Linked DNA regions of Homo sapiens: regions 1, 2 and 3 are each linked to region 4. The links are contacts of gene promoters, found by promoter capture Hi-C in blood cells and fetal thymus (Javierre and others, 2016). All regions are on one chromosome and are shown on one strand. The core of a region is centred on a gene start or on the middle of the fragment in contact, and the rest is flanking DNA. Distances in the headings are between cores, read along the strand shown.

Region 1 (4,429 bases), core at 1,067-3,566, 120 kb after region 4:
CACTGTCATTTAACCTACATTTACTGACAGGACGTGTGTGCTAGGGCTGTGCACTCTGGGTAGTTGTATGTGGACAGATCCAGCCTCTTTTATCAAGGAGTTGCCTGCAGTTTAGTGCAGAATTTCAGGTATAAACAATACAGTAGTACATGGTAATTACTATAACTATTTATTTTAATTGCACAGTATGTGCTTATATTGTGCTAAGTATGTGCTTAGGGTTCAGTCCTCACAGTGAACCCGAAGAAGTTAGGAATATTCTTACTCCATTTTACACGTGGGGAAACTGAGGTCTAGAGAGATCAAACAACTTCCTCTACATTCTAGATTACTTGGTGGTGACAGAGTTAGGGTGTCCATCTCACTAGTCGACCCGCAGAGCACAAGGTTCAAAAGGCCTCACAGTGGATGACAAAGGAGAGAACATTCCACCACTGACTGGCAAAGGAAGAGAAGGCCACACGGAGGAGGTAGCATCTAATTATAATCTTACGACTTGAGTAAGAACATGCAGGTGGACCAGAAGACCTAAAAATTCTAGCTGAAGAAAGAGTACAAAGCTGGGAGGAGGCCAAGGTCATCTCATGTTGTGGGAACTGCTTGTGGTGTTACTCAAAGCAAGGTTCCTGGTGCAGGCAGGGGCAGTGGGTGCTAGAGAAGGGAAGTGGCAGAGCTGAGGCTGGGCATGTCAGGGAGGGCCCTGCGGGCTATGCAAAGGCTGGGGAGCCCTTGAGGAAGTTGGGGACCCAGGTTAGGAAGCTCATGGTGCCTGTGCCTGCTGCAGGGAACAGGGTGGACTGTAAAGAAGATACCTGGGTGTGGGACCAACTCCACATCTACTGCCGTGGCCCAGGTGGAGCACAAAGAGGACCTGAAGGCAATGGCAGCAAAAATGGAAAGAAGGTTCACTTACTCAATGGGTAGAATGATCAGGACTTGGTGAATAAGTGGACCTGTGTGCGTGTGGTCAGAGGGTTGGATATTTAACACGCTTTGCATTATAAGCAGCAGAAACTGACTAATGCGAGCAAAATAAGGACTGTGTCTGAGGGACACAGTCAGCACAGCTCACACATATGAAGAGCTGGCATCCCGGCTGCACCAGGGGCAAGGCCCAGAAACCCCAAAGGCCTCCAGGATCAACTTTCTAGTTATGCTAATAGTGGGATTTGGGTGCAAAGTCCCATTTTGTCTTGTCTCTCTTTGACTCTAAATGTGGCCGAACACTTGCAATATCTGCTATTAGAACAGACATATGGCCATATCTACAGGAAGCATTAAGTGGAGGCACGGAGGGACAGACGTTAAATCTATTTCCTGGAGGACTGCATGAAGCAAGGCCAAGGGTCCTCTAAAAATGCAATCTAGCCTTCCACTCTAGAAAAGTTTGAGGTGAGCTTTGTATTTTTAAAGCAAAACAGTATTTTTTCATGGGTGAAAAATATTAAGATTTATAACACATTATCTATGATTGTAAAATACAAACCAATTTTAACTCCCCACTATTTAAAAGGAAGTTCATCCACAGCGGTAGTTCTCCCTGGGCAGAGTGGGGTGGTGTCAGCCCACTGATCGTTCGGTACACAGTAACTGTCAGAGTCTGAGGGTTGAGGCGTGGGAACAGATGGAGTCCAAGCATGTTGGTTGAACGTCTAGTGGAGGAAGCATACGTCTAGGAGGTGACACACCTGGGACTTTAGACTAGACCCTGATGGTTACTAGCTGTGTGCTTTGGGGCAAAATTACTTATCTCTGTGAACTCGATTTCTTCAGAAATTTCAGCAAAATATCAGTTCCAGACTTCACCTCCTTACAGTCTGACTCAGTAAGTCTGAATTTCTTACTAAGTTCCATATTATGAGCAACCACAGTTAAAAACTGATGTACAGGGCTAGGTGCTGTGGCTCACACCTGTAATCCCAGCACTTTGGGAGGCCAAGGCGGGTGGATCACCTGAGGTCAGGAGTTCAAGACCAGCCTGGACAACATGGTGAAACTCTGTCTCTACTAAAAATATAAAAATTAGCTAAGCGTGGTGGCGGGCACCTGTAATAACAGCTACTCGAGAGGCTGAGGCATGAGGATCACCTGAACCTGGGAAGTGGAGGTTGCAGTGAGCCGAGATCATGCCATTGCACTCCATCTGGGAGACAGAGCCAGACTCCATCTCAAAAACAAAAACAAAACAAAACAAAACAAAACAAAACAAAAACTGATGTACAGGAAAACCCTCAAATTTTCCATAGTCATTTATTCATTCACTCATTCATTCAAATCCTGTTTTTCCAGCACTCACAATGTGCCTGGGCCTGTGCCTGGCACTGGGGCCAGAGCAATGGAGATGACACACAGGACTCACTACCTCATGGAACTTATGCTCTTAGATGTAGTTATCAATAAATTAATCTGGTGAGAGAAAAATGTCACATCAGCTGTAGGGATGGCACCTGATTATCACCTGCTGGCAGCTTCCTGAAACTGCCTTAGCTCCTGAATCCTAAAATGCTTTTATTAGCAATTCTAAAGCTAGAGAAAATTTCCATTTACTATACCCAAGGACACTTCAGTTGCAAATAAATATTCAGTAAACTCACTTCACATTTCACTGTGGGACATTTCAGTAAGCACCGTGTGGGGAGAGGGAGGTCAGCATGGGCCATATGTGACGTTCTTTCTCCAGCCCACTGTTTCTTCTGCTGTACCTATTAAATCACAAGACAGCTTTTGCACTACCTCGTGGCATTTTTCTGAGCATAAATGCGAGTCCTTGGTGTTGAGTTGCTGCCATGTGAACGAATGCTTTCCCCCTATAGGCTCAGCTCCTTCATTCAAGGGGATCACAAGCAGAGCTGAAGTGTGCATCCAAGGTTGTGCCTCCCACCAGCTTGGGGGATGAGAAGCAGTTGTCCTTGCAGATTAGAAACTGCAGACTGCCCTCTCTGAATACTATGCAGACTTAGAACATAGAAATGAGCTTTTTAGACAATTAGGGAACTTGACAGTAGCAGATGAGACTCAGAACTGAATCCAGCAATGAGACGGTTAACATGGATAGCCTGAGTGATACGCATTTCCTTGGGAGCAGAAGTAAGGAGCCCACATGGGAAGAGGCTGGCAGGGTGGAAAGAGGAAGCTGCAGCCTGTGCTTATGTGGTCAGGGTTGGGGAGGCGTGCAGCATGGAGGGCCAGGACAGGAACAACCAGGACTTGTGGGACTTTGCAATGCTGTTGTGTTCACAGTGAAAAATAAAGTGATTTGAGAAGCTGAATGTTTTAATGCAGATTCAAGGGATATATGCATCTCTTGGCGGAAATGAATAAGTGACTATTTTCTTTAACAATGATTTTTTTTTTTTTTGAGACAGAGTCTGGCTCAGTCACCCAGACTGGAGTGCAATGGCGCAATCTCGGCTGACCACAACCTCCACCTCCCAGGTTCAAGTGATTCTCCTGCCTCAGCCTCCCGAGCAGCTGGGATTACAGGCATGCATCACCATGCCCGGATAATTTTTTTTTGTATTTTTAGTAGAGACGGGGTTTCTCCATGTTGGTCAGGCTGGTCTTGAACTCCCGACCTCAGGTGATCCGCCCGCCTCGGCCTCCTAAAGTGCTGGGATTACAGGCGTGAGCCACCGCACCCAGCCCTTGACAATTATTTTTATCTGGCATTCCTAATGGCGCTAGCACCCTCAGTGCCTAGCATAGCCTCTGTAAGTGGCCGGTGGCAGCAAATGTTTGTGAATGAACAACTGGCCTACTGTTGGAATGACTGAATAAATCCTAGAATCGTGATTATAATAGTAACTAAATGAAGCAATACCAATTGCCAACATTGGCTTTGGTACAGTGGAGATGAATTTGGGCCTGGAGGAGGACCTAGCTCTCACTTCAGCATGGACTAGTAAATAAGAACAAGGACGTTGGTATCAACTGTCTTGGGTTCAACTCCCAGCTCAACCACCTGCTAGCTGTGAGACCCTGGACATATTATTCAATCTCTCCATAGTTTGGTTTCTCTAAATTTAAAATGATGTGTAATAGTACTGTGTCTGTGTGTGTGTGTGTGTGTGTGTCAAGTGAGTTATATATGTGAGATGCTTAGAATCATGCCTAGAACACAGCAAGGTCTCTGAAACTATTAGCTATTATTATTAGTTGTAAGAGACAAATAGATAACATCAGTAAACAGCATCTGGCACAAAACCTCTGTTCAATGCTTATCACCTGTTCCAGACACAGGCTACCTGGTTACAATTTTATCCTGTATTTCACTTCCTTTTTTACCCCCTCACCACTTAAAAATAAATACAACTCCAAGTATATTCCCAAAGCAAATTATATTTAAGGTTTCAAATAATTAAGCAGTTACCAGGGAGAGGTGATTGTTCAGTAAGGACAGAATGTGCCATGCCTTAATAATTACAGTTTT
Region 2 (4,427 bases), core at 1,326-3,825, 100 kb after region 4:
GGGATTTTGGGACAGTTAAGGCAGCCAATGGAATCTGTTAGCACGAGTATTTCCTAGTCTTCCTGTGAGAAACAGAAGGAGGGACCCTTGAAATGAGGTCCCTGGGGCTCTTGGTTGAGGACCTGAAAGAAATGAGAGAAAGATGGATCTGAGCCTTTTAGGAAGACGTCTTCATTTGAGGTAAGGTTTTGTCTTAGGGCCCTACATTCCCAGCAACAGGCTCAGGGGATACCTCTGCAGACCACACAGGGAGATTTGCTCATTCATCCATCCATTCACTTATGCAAACGATGATCATAAACAGCTTGCTGCAGGGACTATGCTGGGTACTGGAAATAGGGCGCTGAGAGAAAATGACCATGGTGCTTGTTTGCAGAAAGCATAGAGCCTCGTGGAGGGAGATGGAGATTAACCAAAGTATCACATAAATGACTGTATGGTTACAACTGAGAATATTATGAAGGCGAGGAACCTATCATACAAGACCATAGAACAGAGGAGCTTTACTCGGCCCAGGAGCCAGCCAGGCTTCACTGCGGAAGGTAATCTTTTATGGAGAACTGATGGGTAAATGGAAATTTACTGGGTAGACAGAGGGGAGAAGAGAGCCTCCCCACCTTCCAGAAGGAACAGAGCTACAAAGGGAGAGAGAAAGAGATCTGAAAGAGGCAGTGTGCGGGATGGAGCCTGGGGGAGAAGGCACAGTTAGCACTGGGGTGGTCTCTGGCCTGGGCAAGCCTCTTGGACAGCAGCCTACAATGCATGGCCAGCCATGCTGAGCTCAGAGAGAGAATCGTACGAGAAAAGTGCAGGCTCCTCACTGACACACAGGATCTCTGTACTAGAGCAGTGCCTGGGGTAAAAGATTAATAGTTGCTTAATAAATTGTTATTGAATGAGTAAATGGAAAAATGCTTGGCCTCAGCCTTGGGAGGTGACTTCTAGCAGGGGGAAGCTCCTACCTCCCTTAGTTTTTCTTCCCCTCATTATCCTCAAGGAAGAGGAGTGCTTTTGTATTGGTCTAGTCCAGGGATATTGATTGGGCCATGTAGTTCTGGTGAGCATTAGACAGAGAGATACAAAATAAACAGGCATTAGGGTGAACACTGTTCTGTGCTTTTGCTCTGGTTCCTGTGTTTTGTATTTGCTTCTCCTTGCTGAACATTTTTCCTGCTACCATCAAAGGAGTAAGGATAATAACAGGGCTAGGCTGAGGAAAACAAAGAAGTAAAGTAGTTTTACTCCTGCTCCCTTCAGTTCAGGCAAGTGGTGTCACTGAAGTGATTCTACGTGGCTTTGAGGCCAACAGTGACACCCAGGGATTTTCTCTTGAGGCTTAGCTTCCCATGGGAAGCTTGCAGGGGTAGGTTGCTGACCCAGGGTCAGATTCAAAATTTAGGAATGCTAAGTGTCAGTCAGTAATCTCTATCTCTTCTATTTTTACTCTTGAAGATGGTGTATGACAGTAGATAGTGTCAGAGGTGAGCATACAAGAGCAGAAGAATGCAATGTGGCTTTGGGGCTCTCCCATCAAGAAGTGGGGTCCATTTCCTGATCCCTGGAGTCTGGACTCAGGAGCAGCCTGTGACTTGCACTGACATCAATGGATAATGAAATGGATGGAGACAGAGTTGTGCAAATTCCAGAAGCTACGCCTTGAGGGCTCTTGCAGATTTTGCTTTTGACCTCTTGAAACTGCCCTGAGACCACTAGGAAGGAATACCTATCTGGTTTTCTGGAGGAAGAGAGTCACATGGAGAAGAACTGAGGCAGCCACCAACTGCCAGACATGTGACCACCAGCTCTGCTGACCCCACAGCTCAAAGAAGCTGCACAGATGAGCTGAGGCCACACTCTTCAGGGAACAATCCGCACAGTCCTGAGAGACAGCAACTCCTTGCTCTTCTGAGCCACTAGGCTTTGGAACAGTTCATTGCCTCTTTTACATGACATACTCTAATTGCATCATCTTGTTCAATGCTCACAACAACCCTGCAAGGTTCTTATTAATTTTCCATTTTACAGATAAGAAAACTGAGCCTCACAGAGTAGATGCAAAACCGTTAAGTGGCAGGACTGGAATTTGCACTCACATCTATGTGGCCCTAAAGGCCACCCTCTCCCCATTTCACTGGCCCATCAAAAACCACAGAGACCAGATAACAAGAGCTTGTCATAGTGCTGACAGCAGAGCTGAGGTCCCAAACTGCAGCATGCTCTGCATTCTTCTGGTCACAGGGCAAAGGCCATCAAAAGGGATCAAGAGAAGACACAGGAGCTTCCAGGATGTCAGAGAAAAAGGATGGGCTTGAACTTCTATTGACTTCATTGAGTCAACACAGGAGTCAAAAACTGTTGTGACTGGGGACTCACACCCTGTCTATTCTTGTTGATCTTTGGACAAACCATTGCAGCAGACAGAAACATTCAAATAAAGCTTAGAAAAGTGAAAAAAGAAAGGGGGGAAGAATACCATAGTAAAAGAAAATAGAAGAGGGAAATGGTGAGGCAAACTTATCACTGGCATCATGATCTATCAGATTATGTGCTCAAAATAAGGTTATGGATTTATTCTTAGTGGAGGGACTGGGGCTCATGGCCTGAGTATCATTCACAAAGAAGCCAGAAAACTCCATGTGTCCACGTGTCCAGGGGCAGGAATGCCCACGCAGGCACTGTATCGCTGCAGCTGAATACCTGCCAGAGAAGCTTTGCTACCCTAAAGCCAAGGCCAGGCCTTCTAAGAATGCGCCACACCAATGAGGTGACATGTCCTGTGATGGCCTAGTATGGTTATGTGCTTTGCCTAGAATCCACGATTGCATTATGATGGAATTTCTGGTATAGAAAAATTGTAATGTTCCAACACTGTTTTTGAAAATAAAGTGCTTCTTCATTAAAAAAAGTTTAATTGTAGTAAACTACACATAGCATAAAACGTACCATTTCAGACAATTTTTAAGCATATAGTTCTGTGGCATTGAGTACATTGACACTGTCATGCAACCATCACCACCAGCCATTTCCAGAACATTTTTATCTTCCTAAATGGAAACTCTGTATTTATTAAACATTTAATCCTCATTCCCACCTCCCGCTATCTCCCGGTAACCACCATTCTACTTTCTCTATGATTTCCAGAACTTTTTCATCTTCCTAAACAGAAACTTTGAATTCATTAAACATTTAGTCCTCATTTCCATCTCCCCCTATCTCCTGGTAACCACCATTCTACTTTCTCTATAAATTAGACTACTCTAGAGACCTTATATAAGAGCAATCAAACAGCACTTATTCATTAATGACTGGCTTATTTCAGTTGGTATAATGTCCTTAGGGTACATTCATGTCATAGCATGTGTCAGAAATTCCTTCTTGTTTAAGGTTGAGTAATATTCCGTATTGTGCATTTACCACAGTTTGTTTATCCATTCATTTATAGATGGAAACATCCACCTTTTGGTGGATGTTATTGTGAATAATGCTGCTATAAACATGGACATACAAATATCTCTTTCAGATCCATTCTTCTGGGCAGATACCGAGAAGCAGACTTGCTGGGTCATATGGTAATTCTATGTTTAATTTTTTTGAGGAACAGCTATACAGTTTTCCATAGCAGCTGTACAATTTTATATTCCCAACCAGGATGATGATTTCTCCACATCCTTGCCAATGCTTTTTTTTTGTGTGTTTTTTCTTTTAACTTTTTTGAATGAGTAGCCATCCTAATGGGTATGGAGCTTCTTCATTTTATAGAATAGGAAACCAAGACATAGCAAATGTTAAAAGTTTCCCCACGGTCACACAGCTAATAAATGGCAGAGCTGAGAATTGTACCAAGGTGATCTAAATCCAAGGAGCAGAATTTTAAAGTTTTTATTTCCAGGTTAATGGTGGACAACCTCAAGCTAAGGGATTTCTGCTAATTGTATGGAATTGCTCATCACTGGGAGGCTTGTTCAGCATACACTGGGGTGAGGAGGAAGACATAAAATACCTCCATCAGTGAGAAGCATTTGGTTCACTCAAAAACAAGTTGAAGACCTGGAACAGATAAAATCAGAATAACTCCTGACCTTTGGTACAAATGCCAAGGGACTCAAATGTGGATAATTTTGGAAGCCAACTGAAGAGTTGAATTATTACTTGTCTCAATGCTTCCTGCTTTCGGTTGGTTCTGGAAATGGAAGTGCCAAGCCCTGCCAGGAAGTCTTCTCTCGTGGTTTTACTGGTCAGGGCTAATTTAGGAAGTGCTGGAAATCTCGTAGAAACCCCTTGGGAAATTTTTACCTTGTTTTCCTACATAAAAAGTTCCACTCAGTTATAAAATCTCAGAGATGACATCTGGCCTCCCCACTGGCTTATCTGAGCTAAACCATGTGTCTTTTCCCAGTGCAATTCAGTATCGGGCAACATAACCTGGG
Region 3 (4,552 bases), core at 1,576-4,075, 120 kb before region 4:
AAATCTATAGCATATCACAGTACCTGTTTTCTCGAGGCAAAGCACTTGAACAATTATTTGAATTACAAGCTAATCTAGCCACTTCTTTGATGGAACACCATTTTTACTGAAAAGAATGACAGGTACACTATGTTTATTCACACTTGTGTTTTTGGCAAAGATTTTCTTGTAAGTGAATGGCATGAGCCTGTCACTTCAAGCAGAACAACTGAATAGTTCTTCAAAATATAAAATTTAAGTTTCCAAAGAAGAATTGGAATTTTAGGAAGCTTTTCATTGTGAGCAGCTTCCCAATACTTCAGGACATTTCTGATGAGATTAGCGGTGAACAGATTTTGATGTGGCCTCTACAATCCCTGCTTCCTGGGGCTCACGCCTTTTGACAGTCCCTCTCTTGAATGGGGTGGATACTTGTGACTTTCGTCTAGACTACAGCATGCAGCAAAAGTCATCGGCTGTCAGTCCCATGATTGTGTTGTCTAAGACTTGATCTTGCTAGAACATTCACTCTCACTCTCCCGCTGGCCTTGAAGAAGCAAGCTGCTGTGTTGTGAATTGCCTGCTGTGAGAGCCACAAGGTGGGACAGCCTCTAGGAGCTGAGGGCCACATCCAGGCAGCAGGGAGCAAAACCCGGAAATTTTCAGTCATATAATCACAAACAAATGAATTCTGCCAGCCACCCGAGTAAGCTTGGAAATGGAGCCTTTCCCAGTTGATCTTCCAGAAGAGAATGCAGCCTGAATGGCACCTTGAATGCACCCTAGTAAGACTCTGAAACAGAATCCAGCCAGGCTATGTCTAGACTCCAAACACATAGACGCTGTGTGATTTTAAGCTGCTAAGTCGGTGGTAATTTGTTATGTAACACTAGATAACTAATACAGATTTTGGTATCTAGAAGTGGTTGGGGGCTGTCACAAATCCCTACAAATGGGGCAGTGGCTTTGGAAGCAGGCCATGGTCGGGGGCTGGAAGAATTTTGAGGAGTGTAATAGACAATGCCTAAAGAATCTTGGACAGACTGTTATTAGCTATGGAGACTTTGGCACTGTCATTGGGATCTCTAAAGAAAAGGAGAAGCACGTTATTAGATACTGGAAGAAGCAGAATCTTATTATATAGTGGCAAAACGCTCAATGAAACTGTCTCCTGAAATTCTGTGAAAAGCTGAACTTGTAAATGATTAACTTAGCTATATAGTGAAAGGGATTTTCAAGCAAAGTGTTGAAGGTGCTGCCTGGTTTCTTTTTGCTGCTTATAGTAAAATGTAAGGGCATAGGTATATTGACAGAATAACTGTGCATAAAACAGAACCATGACTTGAGGACTTTGAAAATTCTTTAGCATCACCAAATGGCAATGATGCCAACATGAAGAGATTTATTGTCAGGAAAATGCACTCTGGGAGAAAAGCAGAGGGTGTAACTATACAACCATTTGCCAAAATCTTAGAAGGAATATAAGCTCAGAATATTCACTCACACAAAATACCTTTCAGTGCTTCACAGACCCTCTCAATAAATTAGCGGGCCTCTGGGAAGCTTAAGGGCACTATCTGTCTTTCATGCCCAGGGGGCCAAGGTGGAGGAGGTATTATTACAAAAAGGTCTGTGGATGTGACTTGTGTCCAATGGAGTGAACCCATTAAAATCCACAGAAAGCCCATAGAATATTTGAGAAAACTGTTTCAGCAGAAACATCACAAGCTTAGACTAATGGGGACAGACAGAGTAAAACAAAAGGCCACTTCAGACTCCCAAATTCTACTGGCAGGACAAAGGCTGATAAAACTTCTCACCTGCAAATGCCTTTTAGGAAAATGGAAGGATGACCCAGAGGGCAGCGTTAAAACTCAGAAGGCAAAGCCAAGAGCCACAGGTCATTTATTCTAAGGGCTTAAAGCTTAATCAAGAAACCCAACATTCTCCTGCCTGGATTTCAGAACTGTAATGGATTGGTGACTCTTTTGTACGTCCCGGGTATGAGAATGTGTATAGCTGTTATCCTCTGCCTGTCCACCTGTGTGTACAGGGTGAGATGGGGGCAGATCATTCTTCTCTTTTGTTTCCCAGGTCCACAGATCAAGGAAGGGTGGGCCCCAGGAACTATACTTATCTGGACCTGGACTTGATGATAAGATTGTGGACTTTGTGCCGACACCTGAATGGGCAGAGACATTGGGGAACCTTGGGAAGCATGAATATCTTTTACATGTGTCATGGATGTGAATCACTGGGGGCCAGAGGGTGGACTCTGGCAGACTCTAAGGTGGTCCCTGCAAACCTTGCCTTCTGTTCATGTTTCTGTGTAATCTCCTCGCCTTGAGGGTGTTTGGAACTTGGGACTTTCTGCTAATGAACAGAATTTAGAAGTGATAGGGTCTCACTTCTGTGACTAATTTACCAAAAGACTGTAGCTTCTGGCTTGTTCATCCTCTCTTGCTCTTTCACTCACTCTGATTTGCACCTGCTGCCATAATGGGAGCTGCCCTGTGGAGAGGCCCATGTGGCAAGGAACAGAGGGAGGCCTCGGGCCCAACAATCATAAAATGAGCTTAGAAGTGAACCCTCAGCTAGCTGAGTCTTCAGATAAGACCTCAGCCCAAGCTGAGGCCTTGTGAGACACCTTGAGCCAGAAAACAAAGCTAAATGCACCTAGATTCCTGACCCACAGAAATGGTTAGATAATAAATATCTCATGTTTTAAACTACTAAGTTTTTGAATAAATTTTATGTAGCAGTAAATAGTAAGGCCAGTAAAATGATATTTCTAGCACACTTGAGTTTGTGGCCCAAAATTCAAACATACTGCCCTATTTGTGAGTTCACTGCTAACCATATGTATTTACCCCTAAAAATCTCATAGTGAAAGAAAGACATGGTTTACCTCCATAGATTCCTGAGTGTCCTTCCAATAGCTATTGTTTGTGTAAAAACTTAGAGATCCTACTGCTTATTGGAAACTTGCTAGTTCATGCACCTTTTTTTGTCTGATTAAAATATCTCCTGCCTTCTTCATCTTAAAATAATTTTTTATTTTGAAAATTTCAGACACAGAAGTTGCAAATATAAGACGGAGTTCTTTAGTACCCTTCAGCCACTTGCCCCCAGTGATAACATTGTATACAAGCATAATACATTATCAACATCATCTGATTCCTTTTTTGAATAGAAAAACAATTCTATTTAGTAGATCTATTAGTAGGCTTTCACCCTACATGGAAAGTCTTTCTTATATTGGAACTTTTCAAGAAATGTGGCTGCAGATCTATCTAGTACTATCTAGAGGGCAGGGCCCTCAGATCCCGACCCGCAAAATGAGCCTCAGTGGGAATCTATACTTGCCAACCAACATGAACATAGCAATAAAATGATCCATTCGTCAGGGCCTTGACGAGGCCTGCGCCCCAGATTGTGCTCAGCTCCCAAGCTGCTGAGAGCTTTGGGGGGTAGCAGGTGTGGGGAGCAGGTGGCTCTACCAAAATAACAGCAGCAGCAGCAACAGCAACAATGACAACAGATAAAGTAGAGTCCCAGGAAGAAGGGAGGCACTGTTATTTGAATTACATTACTAAAGTGATAATAAATGTCACTTCAATAATGTGTCCAGTGATAATAAATGCCACTTCAATAATGTGTCCGTGGACATTCTAAGCATCAGACTTCATGTGAGCATGACTGTAGTTCTTTCAGCTAAATTACGGATTCTCTTTGCTTCACATCTCTCACGATAGGCAAACAAGCTTAACCATAATTTCCAAGTTTAAAATCCTATAGAGATGTTTCACTTAAGATTAAGCATGTTTTCAATCTCACCAGCACAAACTCTGGCAAAAACACAATGAACAGTAACTGTGGCAAAGCAAAATAATTAGATACCATTAAGGAAATAATCTACTTAGAAGATGGGTGATAACAATTTTTTCAGATCCAGCTGTGGCTGTGCTGCCTAACATAGCAGCCGCTATCCACGTATGGCTATTTAACATAAATCTATTAAAATTAAATAAAATTAAAAATCTGTCCCTCAGTTGCACTGGCCACATTCAGGAGCACACGTAGCTAGCGACTTTCATACTGGGCAGTACAGATATAGAACATTTCTTTTACCACAAATAATTTTCCTGGACAGCATCAACTTGCAGGATGCAAGAATCTGAAAGGGGCTAAGAGAAAAGAAAAAATAACAAGGCACATGAAGTGAGATATGAAATGCAGCAGAGCTCTCTCAATATCATTAAATGTCAGAATGATATTTAGATGTATATTATCAGATAACTCACCAATTATCTCAGCAAAAATTTTTGAATAATCTTCCTTTCCCCACTGATATTTCTAATGCCTCCTTTATTAGTCTTAGGGGACTCTGGGCAATCCCACCCTTTGGCAACTGGAATCGTGGCCACTCGCTATGTGAACATTTTTCTTATTTGAAGGAAAGATGGACTCGGAATGCTGCCACTAGGAAAACATGGCACGATGAGCCCTGGGTGGTTCTCGTCACAAGAAGCCCTTTTGTATAGCGAAAATAATATGATCTGATACGATACAT
Region 4 (4,596 bases), core at 203-2,702:
TTTACAAGATGCCAGCGTAAGAAGGTGAATCTTCTTGTCATGAATATTTGCCTCGTGTACATTTTAAGCCATAGCCCAAATGATCTGATTTGTCACGGAAATAATTCTGACACATTCTAATATAAATAATACTGAAATTGTTACTTTTTAAAATTCCATATAAAAGATGAGTACAATAAAACTCATTGAACAAACATCTTCAAACAAAGAAATAAACTCAAGAGGACCCAGGACATTTCTATGTGGGTCCCCCCCACCCCTCGACTCATAACCAAATTGAACCTGGCCTTAAAAGCATTTGAATGTCTATGAAAGTTTAAATATCATACGCAGTATTTTCAAATTCCATAAATTTTCCTCTTTTAACAGAAGTTGATGGGACTAGTAAGGAGACATTTCCTCAACACCATTTTGTCTGGAATTTTAAAACAAGGTATCTCAAAGCTGAAATATACTGCCTGCGGCGCAGTGGGAAATTGTGAGTGGGTAACCTAAGCAAAGCGCACCGCATTGAAATTCAGTCTGGGTGGGCTGCAGTCCCTAGAGAGAGGGAAGCTGCATTTGAAAGCTGTGCCTGGTCAGACCCTATGGAATCGCTACGGTTTTCGGTCATTAGATGCCTCCAAATTAGAAGGAAAAACAAGCCCTCACGAGGTTCCTTAGGCATCAGCAGCGATGCTTGACAAATATTTAAAATACATTTCAAATATAACCGCAAGTAACCTGATGCCTTAATATTACTAAGGGTTTTCCTGAGAAGGTTTGGTGACTTGAGCGTCAAACCTGCGGTCAGCAAAAGGACTAACTTTTCAAAGCCGGGATAATTCCTCTCTTGCAGAAATTAAGTTCAGACTCGATCTCATCATATTTATAGTATAAAAAGAAAGCTCCCGGCTCAAATATAAGGAAAACTCTTTACACACGACTTTATAAAGGCTGACTTCCGTGGGTATATGTAGGTCTACATAAATTTAAATATGGTTGGGAGCTAGAACTCCTCTCCTGGTGACAGCGGGGCTGCTCAGAAGTGTCCCATGTCGGCCTGGTCCTGCACCTGCTGGCACAGTGCAGAGCAACAGACGCTTGACAGAAGTGAACTCTCTCACTGTCCTCAGAAAAGAGAGGCGGACCTGAGCGACACCAGGGTCTACCAACCTTACCGCTTTTCTTTACTGTGTTTTTTTTTTTTTAAATTCACCAGTTACCCCAAGTTTTCCTATTGAAATTCAATTTGAAAACACTCACGTGGATTTGTGCGTCGCGCTTTGGGGCCAAGACTGATCCTCGGGTGCGAAGAGCAACCTCGGAGCCGGGGCTCCCTCTGCCCTGCCAGGCTTGCCCGCCTCGCCGCGGCCGAGCGTCCCGCCCAGGCTGGGATGCGCCGCGCGGGGACCCAGGGGGCTTGCCGCAGTCACCGCCCCGGGCGCGGGCCGCGCAGTCACTTGTTAGAGTGTCCTGCTAACTTGGCCGCGGAGCTCTTCCCAGCTTTCTTTCACAATGACTTCCTGAAGTTGCTCACTCGCATTGTTCCCCATTTCTCCGCCACACTCCCCGCCCCCAGCCGGCTCAGACCAGGCTTTCGCGCTCCCGGCCGACCGGCTGCCCCGCGCGCACAGCGCCGCCCGCGGGCCCCGTACCTGGCCCCCTCCGCGCCGGCCGCCCCCGCCGCGCCCTTGCGTTGCCACCAGCTGCCGCCCAGAGCGGCGGGTGGCCAGAGCGCGCGCCCTGCCACCCCGCAAACTTTGGGGTGACGCACGCTGGCGGTCCCTGCTCGACCTGCCCCGCAGCCGGCTCGGCCCCGCGCGCACCTCTCGGCCGCCTCCCGGATCGCTGCTCCGGTACAGGGAGCGGGGCGCGCAGAAGGGCGCAGAGCGGGACACGGAGAGGGTGCGTCGTCCCGTCCCCGCCCCGTCGCCGAGTCCCCCGGCTCGCGCGGCGCGCGTCTCAGCCGCAACTCCGGGCCAGAGGGGCCGCGCACGAAAACTTTGCAATCGCGCCGGGCTCCGGCTCAGCCCCCAAAGGCCGCCGGGGCGGCGGCGGGTGCGGGCCGTACCTGCTGGCGCCGCCGCCGGCTGCAGCCCGCTCGCCCGCGCCGGGCCCGCTCGGCGCGCCGCCGCCACCCCCGCGCGCACCGCGCCCGGGCCCTCCCCTCGCCGCCGCGCTTCCTCATTCCAGCGCAGCATCGCGCCGCGGCCCCGCACGGGATGCGGCGGCCGGCGCTGTGTCCGCGGGCCGGGCAGCCCGGCTCGGCCGCGGCGCTGCGGGACCCGCGCGTAACCCGTGGGGGCGCGGCGCGGGCGACACGTGCGGGCCGCCAGGAGGGGGAGGGGGACGCGCGCCGCCGGGCCCGCCACCCTGCACCCGGGGCCGCTGGTCGGTCGGGGCACCCTCACGCTCGCCCCGCTGGCGAGACTGGAGGGACTCGGGACATCGTAAAGCACTTTCCCCAGTGTCTGGGAGCGCCCGCTGTACGCTCAGCTTCACGTCCCTGGAACTGGGGCCCCTTGGCTCCCGGGTTCAGGCTCCGGCCCCAGGATGCGAGTGCCCACCCGAGGGGGTGGGAAAAGTTGATCCTCCGCAAGGGAGGGGAAGGTGCAATTCATTTTCCCAGACAACCAATGGAATACCTCTCGTCTCTCTTCCCTCCCACCTGCTCACGGCAGAAGTTAGGATGGCGCCTTCCATGTTGGCCTGGGTGCACACACAAGTGCGTGCGGAAGGGTGGCTGCAGGCGGAGGTGACAGCGAAGCAATCCCGCAGCCCGCTCGACGGCTCTTTGCGTCTCAGACCTCTCCCTGGCGTGTAAGACACCGTGTGTCTCCGTAAAACGGGAATGCCACATCTGACAGCGCACCCCTTCGCCCTACGGGGAGCCCCTCACTCTAATTAGCCGGGCTCCACCCGAGCAGGAGCCAGCAATGTGTTCAGCTTGAGCAGGAGAGAAAAAGTCATGAATTCCACAAATGCAGCCTGGGCTCCCGCCAGGCGCTAGGGGAGGGGACCCAGAGGAGTGAGATGCGCCTCCTGCCCTTCCAGACTTGTAGGAGCCACCAGGAAGGCACAGAATAAAAATCCCGGGCACCCCTGTGAGGAGGAGCGCCCTGTGAAGAGGGCCGAGAACGTGCTCCTGCTTGGGCGCGGTGGTTCGGGAAGGCGTGAAGACCCATAGGGAGAGCGATGAAAGACCAAGGGAGCCTCCTCAGGGTAGGACATGCAGGCGAAGAAGGCACAGGCCTTCCGGGTGGAGGACACAGCCGGGCAAGGGAATAAGCAGGAAATGTCCCTTCAGGGCAGTTGAGTGTGGCTGGAGACCATCGCTGCCGGGGAAGGTCTTGGCCTGGCCCAGGAGGCCTCCAAGTCGGGGGCCAGGGCACACCAGAGACAGGATCTGCCTCTGCTGCCTCTGGGAGAAGGCCCTTTACCCGTGAATCACAAACAGCGTCTATCCACATTCTCCCTGAGCGCATATGCAGCTCTTACTACAGTACTCAGTGTGTCCTGAAGGGCATTCCGCTGGGCAAGTCTGAGCCAGTTAACTCACTGCTACAGCCCAGAGAAGGGGAAGGTAGTGAAAGGTCCATTGATTTACCTTCTAGTCCTCTCCTCCACTGCGTGACCTTGGGCAGGTTATCCAAACTCCTGAGCATCATCTTCCTTGTCTATAAAAAGAATACATGCCACCAATCCTAAAGACTCCTTACCTGGATTAAATGAGGCAATAAACATAAGGTACAAGGCCCAGAGGGAGGCCAACAATGTTGTAAAGGGGACACGGGACACCTCTAGTTCTTGGATGCAGAAGTACCTTTAGCCGCTGGTACGTCTCTCTAAACCTGTGCCTTGGTCTTCAGGAGTGGACCAGTGGACCGAAACATAGGCATCTCACCAAGGTGTAGCCCACTGAGGCAGGAGCATGTGGGGCTAAGAGCCCAGATAGTTTGGGCTTATGAATCTGACTGAGGTCCTTAATCTCTCAAAGCCTGAATTTCCCCATCTGTAAATTGGTGGTGATAATATAACCCTCCTGGTGGGGTTGTTTGTGGGTTAAGGAGATCACATATGGAAGACCTTGCCACATGCCTGACAGAGAGGAGTACTTTCCAAGTAAGAACAGTTATTCCCTGCTAGCCCAACCAATGTCCCAATGAGATGAGGAGTGCACTGTGAAGAGTCAGGCTCCTTGGCTGGGTGCAGTGACTCACACCTGAGTTTGGAGCCCAAGGTGGGAAGATCACTTCAAGCCAAGAGTTCCAGACCAGCCTGGGCAACAAAGCAAGACCCTGTTTGTACAAAAAAATTTTAAACTTTAAAAATCAAACCCCATTTGTATTAAAAATTTAAAAATTAGGTGTTATGGTATGCACCTGCAGTCCCAACAACCTACTTAGGAGGCTGAGGCAGGAGGATCCCTTGAGCCCAGAAGTTTGAGGCTGCAGTGAGCCATGATTGACACCACTGCACTCCAGCTTGGGCGACACAGCAAGACCCTGTCACAAAACAAAACAAAACAGCAGTCAGGCTGCAGGTACCATGCCTTACCCTTGCCCCCAACCGGGTGGAGTTGAAGGAAGTCAAGCTTATATTATTATAACCTGG

Evidence for each region. The method cuts DNA at HindIII sites, captures the fragments that hold promoters and counts their contacts. A CHiCAGO score of 5 or more calls a contact.
Region 1: a fragment that was not itself captured here is called in contact with the fragment with the promoter of IKZF1 in region 4 in 15 of 17 cell types (activated CD4 T cells, total CD4 T cells, naive CD8 T cells and 12 more); the score reaches 17.1 in activated CD4 T cells.
Region 2: a contact is called between a fragment that was not itself captured here and the fragment with the promoter of IKZF1 in region 4, in 16 of 17 cell types (activated CD4 T cells, total CD4 T cells, naive CD4 T cells and 13 more). The highest score is 55.4, in activated CD4 T cells.
Region 3: a fragment that was not itself captured here is called in contact with the fragment with the promoter of IKZF1 in region 4 in 14 of 17 cell types (total B cells, activated CD4 T cells, naive B cells and 11 more); the score reaches 21.8 in total B cells.

Annotation. Positions count from the first base shown.
Region 1 is chr7:50,181,634-50,186,062 of GRCh38, reverse strand. No RefSeq gene overlaps it. Among named protein-coding and RNA genes, the nearest start is that of SPMIP7, 88 kb to the right of the region's middle. The HindIII fragment of the contact is 7,231 bases long and covers 1-4,429 here.
Region 2 is chr7:50,200,016-50,204,442 of GRCh38, reverse strand. No RefSeq gene overlaps it. Among named protein-coding and RNA genes, the nearest start is that of IKZF1, 100 kb to the left of the region's middle. The HindIII fragment of the contact is 272 bases long and covers 2,440-2,711 here.
Region 3 is chr7:50,424,420-50,428,971 of GRCh38, reverse strand. No RefSeq gene overlaps it. Among named protein-coding and RNA genes, the nearest start is that of FIGNL1, 24 kb to the left of the region's middle. The HindIII fragment of the contact is 1,840 bases long and covers 1,906-3,745 here.
Region 4 is chr7:50,301,572-50,306,167 of GRCh38, reverse strand. IKZF1 (IKAROS family zinc finger 1) reads right to left here and starts at 1,452. Exons shown (of 8, transcript NM_006060.6): 1 at 1,246-1,452. RefSeq lists a silencer at 1,340-2,139 and an enhancer at 2,994-3,495. The HindIII fragment of the contact is 6,071 bases long and covers 1-4,578 here.